Linked DNA regions of Homo sapiens: region 1 is linked to region 2. Evidence: promoter capture Hi-C in 16 types of primary human blood cells and fetal thymus (Javierre and others, 2016). All regions are on one chromosome and are shown on one strand. The core of a region is centred on a gene start or on the middle of the fragment in contact, and the rest is flanking DNA. Distances in the headings are between cores, read along the strand shown. Region 1 holds the start of H2AJ (H2A.J histone). Region 2 holds the start of CLEC2B (C-type lectin domain family 2 member B).

Region 1 (5,238 bases), core at 595-3,094, 4.9 Mb after region 2:
CCCATCTCTACTAAAAATACATAAAAATTAGCCGGGCGTGGTGGCGGGCGCCTGTAGTCCCAGCTACTCGGGAGGCTGAGGCAGGAGAATGGCGTGAACCCGGGAGACGGAGCTTGCAGTGAGCCGAGATCGCGCCACTGCACTCCAGCCTGGGCGACAGAGCGAGACTCCGTCTCAAAAAAAAAAAAAAAAAATTATTGTAATGGTAAAATCGGTTGACTTACTTATAGTTAAGCTTTCTAAGAAATCAAGACTAGAACATTTTCAAATTAGAAATCTCTTGCTTATTGGAATAAAAGAAAAAAAATCGTGTCTAAAATAGTAATACTTTTAAAAACTCTTGAAAATTCCCCAAGATACAGGCAAAAATTTAAGCTAGTTTACAGAACTCATTCCAGGAACATCTCGTTAAAAACTGCATCAGAGATTTGTATGCCCATTTATTTGGTATATCTAAGAGTTATTGGATGCTTACTAACGTATTTAATTTTCAAAACACTTTGATACAGGTAGAGGAGTCAAATAACTTATCAAAGGTCACTGCTCAGTGGTAAAGCCAGGATTTAGGCTGAGGCAGACTGGCTCCGGAAAGACCGCCTAAACCATGACAATAGCTCTGAAGACATTTATTGAGTCCCCAGTATGGGTTCATCATTGTTCTAGGCAGTAATGACATATACATAAATATTTGAAAATGTTATTTCAATGAAGTCAAATCTTTATTCGGATAGTGAGAAGGTAAATTTGCTTTACTTTAAATGTAAATGAATCCACATAAAATGTTTATTTTAAAAAGCAAGCGTTCAACATTACATCACGTATCGGTGTTAACTGTGTTACTGAAAATGTTCAGGTAAAAATGAAATGACCTCGATGAATTAGGAGAAAGTAATTTTTAATTAAAACAAAACACTTGAAACACTCTTTTTGTTTCAAAAAGCATGGGTCCACAATTCAGGTATATAAGAATAAGCTGCCATTCTGACTTTAGTCTCTGGACTCATTTACAAAGAGACCCGGGGGACCTCCACGTCTTCGCAGAGGACCCGATCCGCTGATCTGTGGCGCCCTGGCTTGCGGGGAGCAAGCCAAGGCCAAGACTTTGGCCTCTCCAATAAAACCTAGTGGCTCTTTGCAGGCCCATAGCCTCAAAGACAAAAGATATTTTGGCTAGGCGAGCTTGTTCCTCCCGTCAGCACAGGAAGCATTCACGTCTGGTCATCACTCTAGCTTCAGACTCAAAAGTGAACGATTGGCTGGCTGTGAGCCGCAGGACCCTGCGGGGAGACCAGGGTGGTCTCTACACTGTTGGGTAGCTAGCTGGAGGCAAGGCGCTTGTATAAGAAACAGTCCACGGACCCTGTCCTGGGCAGGCAGAATTCCGCGGACAGGCTGTTGTTTCGCCTAAGCAGCACGGGCTGCGGAGACAGAAACCTACCTGAGTAGTACGGTGTATTATATGAGAACATCCACTTAGCATAGCAACGTCTACGGACAACCCCTGTAGCTCTTCTTCTGGATTGTTTTCTGTTTCCAACCATGTTTTCTTATTTCCTACGAGTTTATGTGCTTGGAAGCGAGCGTGGTCGTGGAAAACCCGTAACCGCTAAATTCATCTGGGTCCCCAAAGACTGAGCCGGCTGGCCTCGTTATTTATGTGAGCGGCTATGTAAATGAGGATTCGGAGATTGCTCTATTGATTGGAGAGAGCTGGAGGAGGCGGTCTCTCTTCCAGAGCGCTAGTTGGGAGCGGAGCCTGCCTGTCATTGGTCACCAGAGCCAATGGAAAGGGGCTGCCGCGCGGCCGTAAAGAGTTTGTAGAGGCAGTTCGGGTGCGGTACGTTGCATTCCGGTACCGGACGCCGAGAGCGGTTTGTCTCCGTCTCTGGAGTTGTAGGCGAGAGGTGATCATGTCCGGTCGCGGGAAACAGGGCGGCAAAGTGCGAGCAAAGGCCAAATCCCGCTCCTCCCGCGCGGGCCTGCAGTTCCCGGTGGGCCGAGTGCACAGACTGCTGCGCAAAGGGAACTACGCGGAGCGAGTGGGCGCCGGGGCGCCGGTGTACCTGGCGGCGGTGTTGGAGTACCTTACGGCGGAGATCCTGGAGCTGGCTGGCAACGCCGCGCGTGACAACAAGAAGACCAGGATAATTCCCCGCCACCTGCAGCTCGCCATCCGCAACGACGAGGAGTTAAACAAGCTGCTGGGCAAAGTGACCATCGCTCAGGGCGGCGTCCTGCCCAACATCCAGGCCGTGCTGCTGCCCAAGAAGACGGAGAGTCAGAAGACGAAGAGCAAATGACCCTGACGCCGCCCTCAGGGAGCTGGCTCCCCCAGCAAAGGCCCTTTTCATGGTCGTCCCGCAATGCTTTTGAATGTGCTGGATGTCATGGAGGGCCGGTGACATCTAGCGGGGAGGTGGGCGGCGAGGGTCCCGGCGGGAGCCAATAAAGTTGGTGAAAATCGTTTGGTCGAGAGAGCTGTGTAGTCGCGGGGACATGTCGGATGGCCCCAGGGGAGGGGGGCGACCGGGAAACCCCTGGAGCAGGCACTGGTGGGTGGGCTTGAGCCACTCTGGACGGCTTTAGTCCGCAGGTCACCCTCGAGGCGTCAGGGGAGGGTGGCCTGGAGGTGGGCAGGGTGGAAGCCACCTCGCTGTCAGTAGGGCAAAGGGGAGGCAGAGTCGGTGCGGTGAGGCCTCCTTCGGAATTATTTTTACTTCCCTTTCACAGAGCCTTCGCTCTCCTGCCAGTTTGTGAGCACTCAGGACCAAGTTCTGGGAAGATACCGTCGGATCGAGCTGAGCTCGGGGCAGGAAGTGTCTGCGGCCATATTTTTCAAAAAGTGGAGTAACTTTCCGTCTTGGAAGGGTGGCTCTGATGGCACGATGTCAACTTGAGATTCTTCCTAGCCTAGTAGCTGCTGTGCTTTCATGCTTTGGATATCAGATATCTTTATATAGCACTTTTATGTTCATATTTTTTTTTTAATGAAGGAAACGTTCAATAAGTGAGTCATGAGGTTGGAAATTCGTTCCCCTGACAGTCATATTGCATAACATTGCAGCGCCTTTAGTCGTGGGTTACATATGCTTGAGCTTTTAAAGTGATGTTGTCAAGTTTCTAGCTTCATAATGATCCTGTCTTCATCATATCATATTCACTTTGAGAATCGGTTTGACTTTGCTTTCAAACAAAACAAAAACCTCTTGCTTTTAGGGGTTCTTACCCAACAAATAACCTGTTTGAACTCTCTTATATTCTCCCACTAGCCTGAAGCAATGACCTCATTCCAGTAATGTCTTTGGGAGTTGCATTGCCTAATGGCACAATATTGCTTTAATAAACATGTAAGGAAAGATAGGACCAAATATGTAAGTGCAGGGGGAAACACATTTCAGACCAGGAATCCACATTGAAAAGTTAACACTAGTAATCATCTTCTGCCCTTAATTGACACTCCTATTTATTTCATCCTCAGCAAATTTCATCCTGGCTCACAGACCCCACAAAAAAGATCCCAGTACAGATTTCACATCTTTGGATTCATCTTTCCTGTGAGTCGGAATTGAAGTCTTCCCCAAAAATATATGTATATATTGTATGTCTTCATCCTTGGTAGCGGCTGGCCCATTTTCCCACATGGACTTTATTTTGTCCCCAGTATTTATTGAACAGCTGTCTATGCCAGGCTCTGTACAAAGTGATAGGAGTAGAGCTGTGAATGAGGCCAACCAGATTTCCACTCTCTCGGAGCTCACTTTATTTTTATTGGTTCCTGAAGACGGGACAAGGAACAAATACATACGTTAATATGAGAGATCAGCTTCTGTTAGTACTTGTACCTCTCTGCTGTGTGTGGATGAATGATGGAATTACTTCTCCCATGTTGCCATTTTTGAGGTGTACAAAGGTCAGGCCGTACACACCTCTGTTAGGAGGCAAATTATTGGGCAGGTTCGAGATGTTCTGCTATTTACTCTGTGGTTTTGTCATATGTAAAAGTCATAACACCTGTTTTAAGGATTGAGATTGTTCATTTACTGTGTGCCACATATTAGACAATAAATGGAAAAAAGTACCATGTTCAATGGGGGTATGGGTTTATCCTTATAGGTTAAATTATAGGTAAACATTAATAGGACTTTTTAAAAAATGCCTCATTGTTAGAACTACTACTCACAGTTACCACTTGGGGTCAGTGGAACAAAATGCATATATGGTTTTGACATTTGAGTCTAAATTTCTTAAAGGGATGAGGCATCTGAGGGATTGTTACCAAAATGATGAAGAAATAAGGACAAGGGACATCAAGACATTCATAAGAAAAAGCACCTTTGCCTTCCCCTGGGAAGATTCACAGGAATCTGTCCAGCTCTTGTTACATGATGAGCAACATAGACAAGATACGAGGCATTGTAACTGCCCTGTCGCCACCCGCCTCTCCCACCACTACCCAAAGGATTCTTAGCATCCCCTCACATACTCTGCCTGCCTCAACGTTCAGTCAGCCCCTCACCATTTTTGTTTTTGAGAGTTTTTTTTTTAACCCGAATAGTTTACGGGCTGTTTAAAATGCATACTCCTACAAAATCAGCTCAGCCCATGATCCATGATGAACAAACAGTAGTTCTTGCTGATGTGTGATTATGAATTTAAAAGGCCAGTATTTCTTTAAGCATAAGACCATATGGAAAAAGGCCTAAGACAAAATCTGATGGGAACTGAATTCCAGTTTTTAATAGAGTTATAATCCATAGTTTTATTTACACACAAACACACACACACACACTCTTTCCTGCAGAGATAAGCAAGCCGTTCAGTGTGGCTGTGGCTTGGCCAGGATTTGTTTGATCTTTGTTTTTCCTGCAGGGCCAGTCTTGTCTTTGTGTCCCCGAGGACTGGTCTGTTTAGTTGTGCCTGCCTGGAATCAAAAGGCTTAGTCAGGCCCCATAATTGGTGATGACTGGCATACTATATGCAAACTTCACAATGCCCCTTCCAGTGGTTGAAAGGTCGCATACCATGCTGTGTAAGAACTTTAGCTCTCTGCAATGAGACTTAAATTCAGATTCACTCTACTCCTTATTAGTTATCTGATTTTTGGAAACTTAATCTCTTTAAACCTCAGTTTCATCTCTAAAATGGGCATAATAGTTTACCTCATAGAGTTTGGGGAGAATTGAGTGAATTAATGTGTGTGAGGACACTAAGATTCCCATATAGAAATAGGCTCAATGA
Region 2 (5,359 bases), core at 1-2,500:
ATACTGAATATATTATTCAGTAACTTTTAAAATATATTCATATGTAATATGATATATAATATTGTATTATATAATGTATTTATATACAAATGTATAAATTTATACAATTGATTGAAAGTAGAAAATAACACTGGTTTTACTAGTGGCTGGAAGGCCTTCTTAAAACTTTTGATTAAAATGATATTTTATGCTACCATCAAATATTGATCTCATTCCCCGCAAACCTGTTTTATCTAACTTTAGGCAGAATTATAAAACCGGTTAAAATACGGGAGGAAGGATAAAGTGTGCATTCTATTGTACCACAGCAATAATTTTTTTGACCGTAGCATACGCTGGTAGGTTGACATTTAGTTAAACGGGAAATGCTTAAAGCTCATCACAGTCCCTAAATCTCTAAATCATAGATCGTTGTATTGAATGCATTTAGTTTCAGCCTTTTCTCTTTCAAATATTTTGACATAAATAAACCCTGTTGAAATCTCAAAGATGTAGCTTGGATCTTATATATTCCGAACTTGCTATTTAATAAATCCAATGTTACCAGGTTGTTTCATAGTGTATTTTTTAGAACATTTTCTTTCCTTATCCTTCTTAGGGTTGGTAAAGACATCTCCATGGATATCGGAGTACTAGCAATTCCTTAGTAAGAGTAGGAAAGGGATATATTCTTTCCGTTAAGTACTCCTAAAGCCCGGAGTATCTTTACACCATCCAATAAAGCAATCTTTAAAAATATTAGAACTATTGGCTAAATTTATCATATTATGTATGCATTCTGAGAACTGTATGAGTATCTGGATCATATCTATCATCTTCTCAAGTATTTGTTTTATAAAATACTTAGTAAAAATGAAACTAAATCTTGAGCAGTTTTAAGTCATGGTTAATCCTTCTCCATTGTAATTCAAATAATGTAAAGTAAGTCTGAATTTATTAGGACAAAACAGTCATATGCAAATCTCAATCTTGTTATAAGAAGGAATTTTCTAGTTTCACAAAAGAAACCACAAAATTTAATTCTTTTCTCGAAGGCTTTAACATTCTGCATCACAATTTCAATAAATAACGGTCATTCTAAACAAACAAAAATGTTCTTACCGTGCTTCTTTTAATCAGCGTTTTGATTTTCTGCTAGCAGCTTTGTGTCATGTCTTGCAGAAACTCTCTTCAAAGTTGTAACTTTATTTAACTTTAATATAAAAATGTTACTCTTGTTTTTACAGCACAGCTCCAAACTAGAGGTATACCACTTTTGAAGAGTAACTCAAAGTATAAATAGCATTTTGCAAACTGGAAGTAACCATGTGACTATCTATTAGTCATACTGTTGTTTATTACAATTTTCTTCTCGTCAAAAAAGAAAGCTTGCCAAGGAGGAAGGAAGTTTGTGATATAACAATTTAAAGCTGAAGAATAAACACATATTTTCTTACTTTCTCAACTGGGATTCTCATCTGAACCACAGAACACGAAATTGCTCAAGTGGCTGTTTTTCTGATTCATCCAGGAGTGGTACTTAACCACGTATCCTTCCAGAACTGTAGGAGAGGCTGATACTAATTAATTCAACAGCATTCTTTAGGACATTACTGCTTTCTTATCCTGTGTTAAGAAAGATCACCTTAAAAGCGATAGAATCAAAGAAAAAGCAATGGTTTAAACTTTGGCTACTGAAAGAAAAACAAAAACTATTATCTCTCTCTCAAAGACAAATGCGTGCAAAGTCACACGTGTGGGTGTGAGCACACACACAAACACACACAAAGACACACAGAGGGAAAAAAGAAAACGAAAGTAACAAAGTGCCCAGAACGTTATCATCAGCATACAAGATGACACCATTATGCTTTTGCTAAGTTACCAGGCCACAATTTTGTCTTCAAATCTGCTCTAATCAGTTTCCCAGTGATTTTGTATTACCCCTCAACAAATATATTAGGGAGGAAACTGAGGAGAAGAAGCCAGTGTCCCGCAAGCGGCTTCGGGATTAACACTGCATTTGTTCTGAGAGAGAAACTTGAAGAGGAAAAGCAAATGAGAATAGAGAAGAAACTGTAGTACAAAGGAATTAAAACAAAGAAAATATGAAGAGAATAAGAAATACAGGTTTAATCATTTCTGGGCAGAAGGAAAGGACAGATAACAAAATTGCTCTTTTCATTTTTGGACAGAAAAAAAAGACAGAAAATTCATGAGGAAATGAATATATTCTACCTTTGTTGTTAACAAAAGATTGTATCCAAAGAACTATTAGAAAAGCATGTATAGAAAAATATAGAGATTACTCAAGTATGGTTGAGTGAAATTTAGTTTTGTTCCAAAAAGGAAAACAGTCAAGATACAACAGTTAAGATATAAAACATTTTCAACACAGGGAAATGTTCCCCGCTGTTGCTTTGCAGTTCATCCTCACCCCTGAAGCCAGGCAGCAGCCAACTTACTGTCAATAAACATGAGCTTTGCTGGTTTTAGAAATTCCTGTTAAGCAGAATGATACAGTTGGCAATTCTTGTAAGTCTGATGTCTTTCACTGAGCATAATGTTTTTGAGTTTTATCCATGTTTTTGCACAGATCAGCAGTTAATTTCTTTTTATTACTGAGTAGTATTTCATTGTACAGACATAAAATATTTTTATCTATTTTATAATAAAATGTATCCATTATGACATTGAGCTTTTTCCACTTCTTGGATATCATAAGGTCAAAATAAACATTTATGCAAAAGTTTTTCTATTGACACGTTTTTTAATCTTTTGAAGAAATACCTGGATGTGAAACTGCTAGGTTACATAGAAAATGTATGTTTTATTTTATAAATGTATTTTTTTCCAAAAAGTTGTGCCATTCCCAACATGAATATTGGATGGTTCTATTTGCTCCACATAAATAGCAATATTAGATATGCCCAATCTTTTTCAATTTAACCATTCTAGTAGGCGTGTAGTAGAATCTAAATGTGATTTTAATTTGTACATCTCTGATGTTATATTGAGCATTTACTCACGTGCGTATTGGTAACTCATATATCTTTTTTCAATGACCTATTTAAATATTTTTCCCATTTTTATGGATTTATTTGTTTCCTTATGGTGATTTTTAAGATTTTATATATATGTAAATATATATGTAGAGAAACATACACATAAAAATGTGTATATAAATAAGTAAAATGGGTTGCAACATAATATAGAAAAATTCCATTTTTAGATAAATGTATTAAAAATACTTTCCATCATTTGTATAGTGACTTTTCACAATTTTTTTTCTCAAAAATTTTAAAAATCTAGAAGCTTCTAAACGTTGGACTCTCTAATCCTAACAAAGTTACATGTTCTCCCTTGTCGAGGTCATGCCTTTTTCCTTAAAGAAAATATTGTGCCCTTCACACCCTCCTTACAGGAATCCCTCCCTTACTTGCCTTTCTTAGTTATTGGTCATAAGGCCAATAACTAAGGTTATGTGCTAAGCTTATAAGGGAGAGAAAGGGCTATACTCAGAATGAATTTGGACCTAACCAATATATAATAACAACAGCTTGGAGTGTACACAATGGGATTGGATTCTGAGGGTGCTAGATCATGAGAGAAACATAAAGCTGGATAAGGGAGATTTTATCAACATTAGGGCATTCAGTTGCAATACAGAATTTAATAACTTGGAAAAATACTGTGAACAGTGCTGACATACTGCTGAAATAACTCCAAGAAGATTGGAGAAAGCAATGGCTCACGCTGAGTAGAGTAACATTCCAGAATTCCCATGGCAGGTAGCTGAAGAAAAGATAAAAATGCTTAGAGAAGTGGGCATGCTACAGTGGATAAACTAGATAAGGACAGGAAACCCACCAACTGACTATGTTCTATGGGATGATATAATGGGCACCTTATTTACCAAAGCAGTAAGGAAGGCGCTGGTGGAAGAACTTAAGTCCTACATAAACATCACTGAGAAGCTTAGCATAGTTCTTCTCTACATGCCAAAGATTACAGTGGGAGATGTTCCCACAGAACTGAATTCAGAGAGAGTATTGGGACAGGGTTTGAAGTAGGAAACGCCAAGTGTCAGAGTGCCACTCTGAAACAAGCTGGGGCCAATTATAGTAATGAGGGTCAAATTGCAATAGCAGCCAGGATTACTGACATATAGAGCCATAGCAATGTCAGATAGAGCTCAATGTTCACAGAAGTAATATAGAGAGCCAAAAAGGGTGCTTCCACTTCTGTGCTGTCCTTTAACAACTGGTGGAACAGAGAAAAACACACACATAACAAGCTCTGGTTTGTAACACCAGCTGATTTCCGTGATGTAATTATTCCCACCATTGCTGATTTCAAGGTACCCAGGTGACATCACTGAACACACAGAGTTGGAAATAAATATGCAGTAGTACAGCATTACGTATTATTTTCACTATACGGATGTAACAGATGTTAATAATTTCATGCATGGATAATAGCAAAATCTTCTAAAAATCATCACAAATTGATGAGTTCTAAGTATTTATTTTATTAGCTTGGCATTAGGGCCACAATGACTCCAAATGTCATGACCCAGGTTAGGTTCCAGCCCATGCTGAGGTCTGAGGGGAGTGGGTGGATGGGCGATAGCTGAAAGAACACTTGGGGGCCCTAAGCAGGTGAAATGTAGTTTTATTTACCAACAGCGACTCTCTCACACTGTCTGCCTTTATCTCCGCTGTCTGCTCTGGCTCTGGGACTCCTGCCGCCGCCACGCCTGCAGCAGCACGCCCTGGCCTGCAAGGCCAGCTCTGTCAGGATTAGCAGCTTAACTCTTTCCCTCTGGGCACAAGCTCGTTCCTGGTTCCCCTCTGCCTGCCTTCAAGGCGACTGGCTCTCCCTTACAAGGGTCAATAGTGCTACTCTCTTTCTGGGCACCAGTGCGAGCCATGTCATGCCATGCCACGCCATGCTGAGCCAAGGCAAGCCCAAGAGCGCCTGTACAGCATCAGCAGGGCAGTTATACCTTTTCCAAACAATAGTGGATTTGAGCCAAGTATGAGCTTACACAAACAGGTTATATAACAAGTGGAGTTATATGCCTGCACTCCAAACTCATTAAGTCACTATGGCCTGGATGTCTGCCTCAGCCTACTTCTTGACCAAAGCACATTTATGCACCTTACTGTTGGTGCAAAAGTTACTTTAGATAATTTTTAAAAATAATGATGTTTAACAATTGGCTCGAGAACCCTTGAAAATTTAACAGTCAGCTGTATACCACTGACTTTGCTGGACATGTACAACGGGAAAGAAATCAAGGGTGGATTACTAGTAGGCTAAGGGCAACCATGTACTCAAAACGTATAAACTATTACCCTAATCTAGTTTGGCCCAA

What was found. The method cuts DNA at HindIII sites, captures the fragments that hold promoters and counts their contacts. A CHiCAGO score of 5 or more calls a contact.
Region 1: the fragment with the promoter of H2AJ here is called in contact with the fragment with the promoter of CLEC2B in region 2 in 1 of 17 cell types (non-activated CD4 T cells); the score reaches 5.2 in non-activated CD4 T cells.

What each region holds. Positions count from the first base shown.
Region 1 is chr12:14,772,561-14,777,798 of GRCh38, forward strand. H2AJ (H2A.J histone) reads left to right here and starts at 1,845. Exons shown (of 1, transcript NM_177925.5): 1 at 1,845-2,464. The coding sequence starts at 1,911. The coding sequence ends at 2,300. RefSeq lists enhancers at 1,265-2,182, 1,396-1,605, 1,796-2,125, 2,136-2,295, 2,183-3,099 and 1 more. The HindIII fragment of the contact is 5,193 bases long and covers 234-5,238 here.
Region 2 is chr12:9,868,104-9,873,462 of GRCh38, forward strand. CLEC2B (C-type lectin domain family 2 member B) reads right to left here and starts at 1,251. Exons shown (of 5, transcript NM_005127.3): 1 at 1,102-1,251. The HindIII fragment of the contact is 5,556 bases long and covers 1-1,365 here.